2 separate regions of the Homo sapiens genome follow, and region 1 is linked to region 2. Evidence: promoter capture Hi-C in human tissues and cell types (Jung and others, 2019). All regions are on one chromosome and are shown on one strand. The core of a region is centred on a gene start or on the middle of the fragment in contact, and the rest is flanking DNA. Distances in the headings are between cores, read along the strand shown.

Evidence for each region. Contacts are between HindIII fragments. The study calls those that stand out against the background at their distance.
Region 1: a contact is called between a fragment that was not itself captured here and the fragment with the promoter of CLCNKB in region 2, in 3 of the 25 tissues and cell types used here (aorta, dorsolateral prefrontal cortex and spleen).

Annotation. Positions count from the first base shown.
Region 1 is chr1:15,930,291-15,932,990 of GRCh38, reverse strand. It overlaps SPEN (spen family transcriptional repressor), which reads right to left. Exons shown (of 15, transcript NM_015001.3): 11 at 1-2,700. Among named protein-coding and RNA genes, the nearest start is that of ZBTB17, 44 kb to the left of the region's middle. The HindIII fragment of the contact is 3,713 bases long and covers 1-2,700 here.
Region 2 is chr1:16,042,412-16,045,111 of GRCh38, reverse strand. CLCNKB (chloride voltage-gated channel Kb) reads right to left here and starts at 1,330. Exons shown (of 20, transcript NM_000085.5): 1 at 1,232-1,330; 2 at 520-626. The coding sequence starts at 619. The HindIII fragment of the contact is 23,589 bases long and covers 1-2,700 here.

The sequences.
Region 1 (2,700 bases), core at 124-2,623, 110 kb after region 2:
GGGGGGTTGCAGATCTGTCTGGGATTCTCCAGGATAAGGTGGAGGTGCTGGGAAGTTTTCTGGCTCCCCAGAAATGTCATTGATGATGGAGCCGATGGCCGCAGCCAGCTCTGTTTCACTTGCTTGGTGTGCAGGCTTGTCCCTGTCCTCTGGGGCAAGGCCCTCTGGTGCATCTGCCTTATAGGCAGCAGAGGCAGAGGCCTCAGCGAGCTTTGCGATGTGTTCCACGGCCTGCTCCAGCTCCATCTGCTTGGCTAACTGGGTGGCTTCTGGGGACGGCCCAGAGGCAGACACGTCTTCTTTCTCTGGTTCCTTGTCTGGATCAACTGGATCACTTTTCAACTGGGATGATAAACCATCCTCCTTTTGGGGACTCTCACTTTTCTCAGGGGAGACTGCCACCACCCCAGATTCCCTCTCCCCTGCCTGTGCTGCAGCCCCCCTGGGACTGACAGCAGCATCCACATTTTTCAGACTTGCAGATTTGTCCACTGCTAACCTGGAGTTTCGAGATCTTCCTCTCTTTGATTTGGAGTTTTTTTCAGGGGCCGGTTTTTTCTCTACAACTTCAACAGGGGCGGTTTCAGGGGGGTTTTTGTCTGTGCCAGCATCTTTTCTGTCACGTTTCTGTTCACTCCCTGCCTCCTCCTCAGCAGCCTTGGGTTCCATGGAGCTCTCTTTCACGCCTATTTGGGGGCCCACCTCAGTGGTGGCCTCAGGACGTGTAGCATCCACCTTCGGTTCATTTTTTCCCTTTTTCCCTTGGGGTCCACCACCAGCTGCAGTTTTCTGGGACCTTGGCGACCGCCATCCCTCAGGTGGCTTGAGTGTTTCTGCAGGTTCCTTGGCCTCGTTCTCCTCCTCTTCATCGGCTCGCCGGCGTGTCTTTGGAGGCCTTCCCCTCCGAGGGGTGGTGGGAACCGCTGCAGCCTCCTGAAGCTCTCGCTCCAATCTCTTTCTGGTCACTCTTGGTTGCTCAACGGGCTCTTTGACAGGAGAGCGGTTTTCATGGTCACCCATGGTTGCATAGACGCTCCTTACATTCCGGCGCCTTGTTCGGCTGAGAGGCAAACTTGGTTCGGGATGTTCAAGGTCTGCAGCAGAGTTTTTAGAAGCAGTCCTTGTAATCTTCTCTGCCTCCATCTTCAATTCCAAAAGCTTCTGTGCTTCTCCCCGAGGAGAATTGGACCGCTTGAGTTTTTCCCGGTCTATCCTCTCACTCTTCCTTGTGACGGGCTTCTCCACGATACTCACTGCAGCTGCCTGAACAGGGGTCTTTGAACGCTTGCTTTTGTTTGGCTTTTTATCCTTTGCAGCAACTGGAGGATCAACCTCTAAATCTTCAGAAGCTGGGGGCTGAGACTCAGGAGCAGCTTCGGCTTTCTGGTTTGCATCAGGCTCAGCATCTGCAGTGGCGTCTGGCTTTTCGGCCTTTGGCTCATTGGCTTCCTCAGACTTCTGAGCTGGTTTTGAAAGTGGCTGGGTACTGTCAGGCTCTGGATCTACGTTGCTCTCTGCCTGGGAAAACGAGGCCCCGGGAGTTGGAGGCTTGGCATCCAGATAAGGCGGCTGGTCACCTGATGAACCTTCCTCAACACCCGCAGGCATCATGGCAGCTTCTTTATCGGGGTCTGCTCCTGGGGGCAGGTCTACTTGTTCCAGCTGTTCCACAGGGGCAGGAGCAGGTTCAGATGCAGGCTTTGCTTCTTCTGAGACGGTAGCTGGCTCCACAGTCTTCTCTTCTGTTACCAAAGGCGCCTCTACCGTTTTGTCACCAGTGGTCTTCTCTAGTGCTGATGGGGCTGATTCTAGAGTTACGACTGTGACACTTGGAGGCCCAACGGAAGGTGGAGTTTTCAGTTCTGAATCTTTATTCTCAGGAGCAGATTCTGGGGTCTTGGGATGATTCTCTGTATCTTCCTGTTTCTCAACCTCTTTGGGTTTCTGGTCTTTTTCTTTTTCTTTCTGTTGCATCCGTGTGAGCTCCATAAATCTGCTATGGAACAGAACTACTGGTTCTTGAATGGAATCAGTTGTGCTGTTTGCTCCCTCAGATGTCTGCTTCCCATAGATCCTACCAGAAATGAAGTCAGAATCTTCCTCTTTTCTCTCTAGATGCTGCAATCGCTTGGAATCTTGTTCAAAGATTGAGCTGTGTAAAAAACGAGAAGCAAACAATTCCTGCCTCTCTTGCTCTTCTTCTTTATGGTCCTCTTTCTTATCATCCATTTTCCCTTCTGAATCAGTCCTAATTTTCTTCTTTTTCATGTACCAGGATGGAATAGGTCTTGGAGCAGAGTCAACCTTTTCTTTATCTTTGTTGTTTCGAAAATTTGCAAATCGGGAGTCCCAATCAAGAAAAGACCAATTTTCTTCACGAGATGAAGAGAGGGATTTAGCTCTTTCAAGCAAAGCTTTAGTGTCTGGTGTGATTGTCTTATCCAATGCAAAAGAGTAAAATTTGTTCCTTTCTAAAGAACTAGAGAGTCTTTCATCTCGCTCACGTAGCTTGTCTTCTCTGTCCCTCAATAAAAAAGACAATCGAGAACTTTCATATAATGCAGAGGCTCTGGGTGAGTGGGATTTGTGTTCACCATCTTCGTCAGAATCAGAAGGCACCTCACCAGGTTCCAGATCTCGTACAGACCTTTTTCGAAGGCTATCTCTCTTAATTATGCTGTTTGGGAAACTCACATCAAA
Region 2 (2,700 bases), core at 81-2,580:
TGCTAGCCCAGCCTGGGAGCTGGCCCTCACTGGCTGTGGGCACCAGCCCCTGGGGTTGCAGTCAGCCTCCTTCTGTGGTCCCTACTTGCTCTGCCCCGTAGCTGAGGGGACAGTCAGGTCTCAAAGTGAACAAAGCACATGGGGCTCCAAGGAAAGGTGCCAAGTGTAGGCTGCCCCAGCCCCTTGCTGTGGCCCCAGCTGTCCCAGCAGCTAACCCCCACGTCCCCTCATTGGCACAGGTAGGTGAGGGAGAGGCCTGGGTGGAAGATGGGCACAGTGACCAGGCCTTGGGCTGTATCTCCCGAAAGGCAGAGGGCAGATGCCCGGCCCATCTGACCCACAGACAGCTGGACAGACAGACCCCTTCCCTCCCTGCCACCCAGGAGACTTTGGGCAGTCATGTCCTGGACAAATGCCAGGAGGAGGGTGGTTCCTGGGCAGGGAGGTGGGGTGGGAGCTGGGCAGGAATGATGTCCTGAGTGGTCCTCCAGGGGGAAGGGAAGAGGACCTGGCTCTCACCTCGGATGCCTCGGCGGATGCGGGGACAGGGGCCCCACAGCTCCTGCAGAGTCACAGGGTTCCCTGAGGAGCCTTCACGCAGCCCCACAAACTCCTCCATCAGGCCCCTGGAGAAGCGGATAGAGGGAGGGACCGCGGTGAGCTGCTGCACGTCCTCGCACTGCCTCTAGGCCCTTCCAGTGCTCTCCCCACCCATGAAGAGGAAAGATTGTGCGTGTGTGTGTGTGTGTGTGTGTATGTGAAGTTATCACACTAGGTCTGTGTGTGCCTTCATCCCTGAGTTTCCGTCACTGAGGGTGTGTGCCTGTGTGTGTCATTGTGTGGGATGGGGGTGGGATTCCTAGGTGTCCCCCTGTGTCCAGCAGCAGACTGGGCACAGGCCGGAGCCCAAGCCCTGCTCAGAGCCCCTTCCCCTTCGGTGGCAGCCGCTCCCACCCTCCTGGGTCACTTGGCGCTTCCACTGCTGGGAGCAGTCTCTGCCCAGGGCTGTGACACTCTCACTGCAGAGTCCCATGGATGGCTCTGACTCTCCCTGTCCACCTATGAGCACCCCTGACCCCAGCTCAGGCCACAGAGGCAGCAAAACCCCAGGCCCAGAAGAAGATCCCACCAGGGCCAAAGTGAGGTGCTGGCTCCTGCCCTTACCACCCCCCCCCCCCCGCCCTGCCTGTCTGGCCCTGGCAGGCCCCAGCATCTTGCAGCGACCCCTCACCTGTCAGTCCTCCTGCTGTGGCTGAGCTGGCCCTCCTCTCACAGAGCCTCCAGCTCCCCTGCACCTGGACAGGTGTGTGTTCCAACAATCAACATCCTCCCCCCTTTCCCGCCTGGGCCCAGGGTTTATGGCGAACACTTAGAATGTCCTTGAAAACCGATCAGAACTGCCCAGGCCGGAGCAGAGCAGAGCAGAGCTGCCAACAGGGAGGGGAACAGGAGCCTCCCCACCCACCATAGCTGCACAGAGGGTGGTGCCCAGCTGTACTCAGGCTCCTGGGTGCTGCTGGACGGGGGCTGGGAAGGGGGAGCTCACGCACACAGCAGGACAGAGAGGGGTCATCTGCCAAGGCTGAGGCTCAGGGTCCAGGGGTCTCAGAGCTGGACATGGAAGGTTTGGAAAAGCACAGAGGGAGAGGGGAGGAGGCTGGGCAGAGAAGGAGAAAGCAGGCCGGCAAAGGTGAGTGGGGCCAGCATGACCACAGCCTCCCTGTGTGCCAGGTAGAGAGTCAGCCTTCCCCTAGATTAATTACCCTGAGTGCCCACGGAAATCCCACGAGGCAGGCAGCGTGATCCCGTTGTAGAGAAATGGTGTCTCAGGGAGGTGGGGCTGCCCGTCTAAGATCACGGAGGCCGAGGCAGCGCCAGGATTCCCAGCCCAGGTTTGCCTGGCTCCAAAGCCCGCAGGCTGTGCCACACGGTCCCATCCTGATGACCCATCTTGTCCAGGGCTGGCGAGGAGGCCGACACCTGGGGCAAGGCAGTGAATTGGGGTCAGGAACTCAGACTTGATCCTGTGTCCAGACCCTCCAGGCTCAGGAAATGCCTCTCAAAGCACACGTCCAAGGGCCAGCGGCTCTGGTGGGGACTTCTGGGTAATTCCACAGAGTTTGTCCCACCCCAACAGAGGATGGCAGCACAGGTGTGAGGGGACATGGCGAGGAACAAGCACGTGCCGTGTGCCTGCAACGTGTCAGAAGCGTCACATCCGCAGCTCAAGTCCTCCTCCCCACACCCTGTGAATGGGGAGAGCCTCGCCATTTTGTAGATGGTCAGAGAGGTGAGTCACTCATCCAAGGTCACACAGCAGAGGCTGAACCCAGCCCCACACTGTGCAGCTCTTCCCCTGCCCAAAGCTCCTCCAGCTCCTGAGGCTGAACCAGGGCAATGGTTTGGGCACAGAACAGAAGAGTTGTGTCTGATGCCACTTTGGGGCAAGATGTTGGGGGCAATTGCCTCCAGTCCTACCCAGACAAAGCCACTCTCTGAATAACATGATGGCCCTTGGATGATTGTTAAAATCTGGGACCCTGGGCCACCCTTTGCCCCTAGATGCCAGGCAAGTCAAATCAAAATTGAAGGTGTGTGTTGTGGGAGGTGGGATGGGGGTTGCCGCTCTGCATGAACCCGAGCCCACCTTCATCTTGGCCACCCTGACCTGTTGACTCTGCACAGCACCAGAACTGGCTG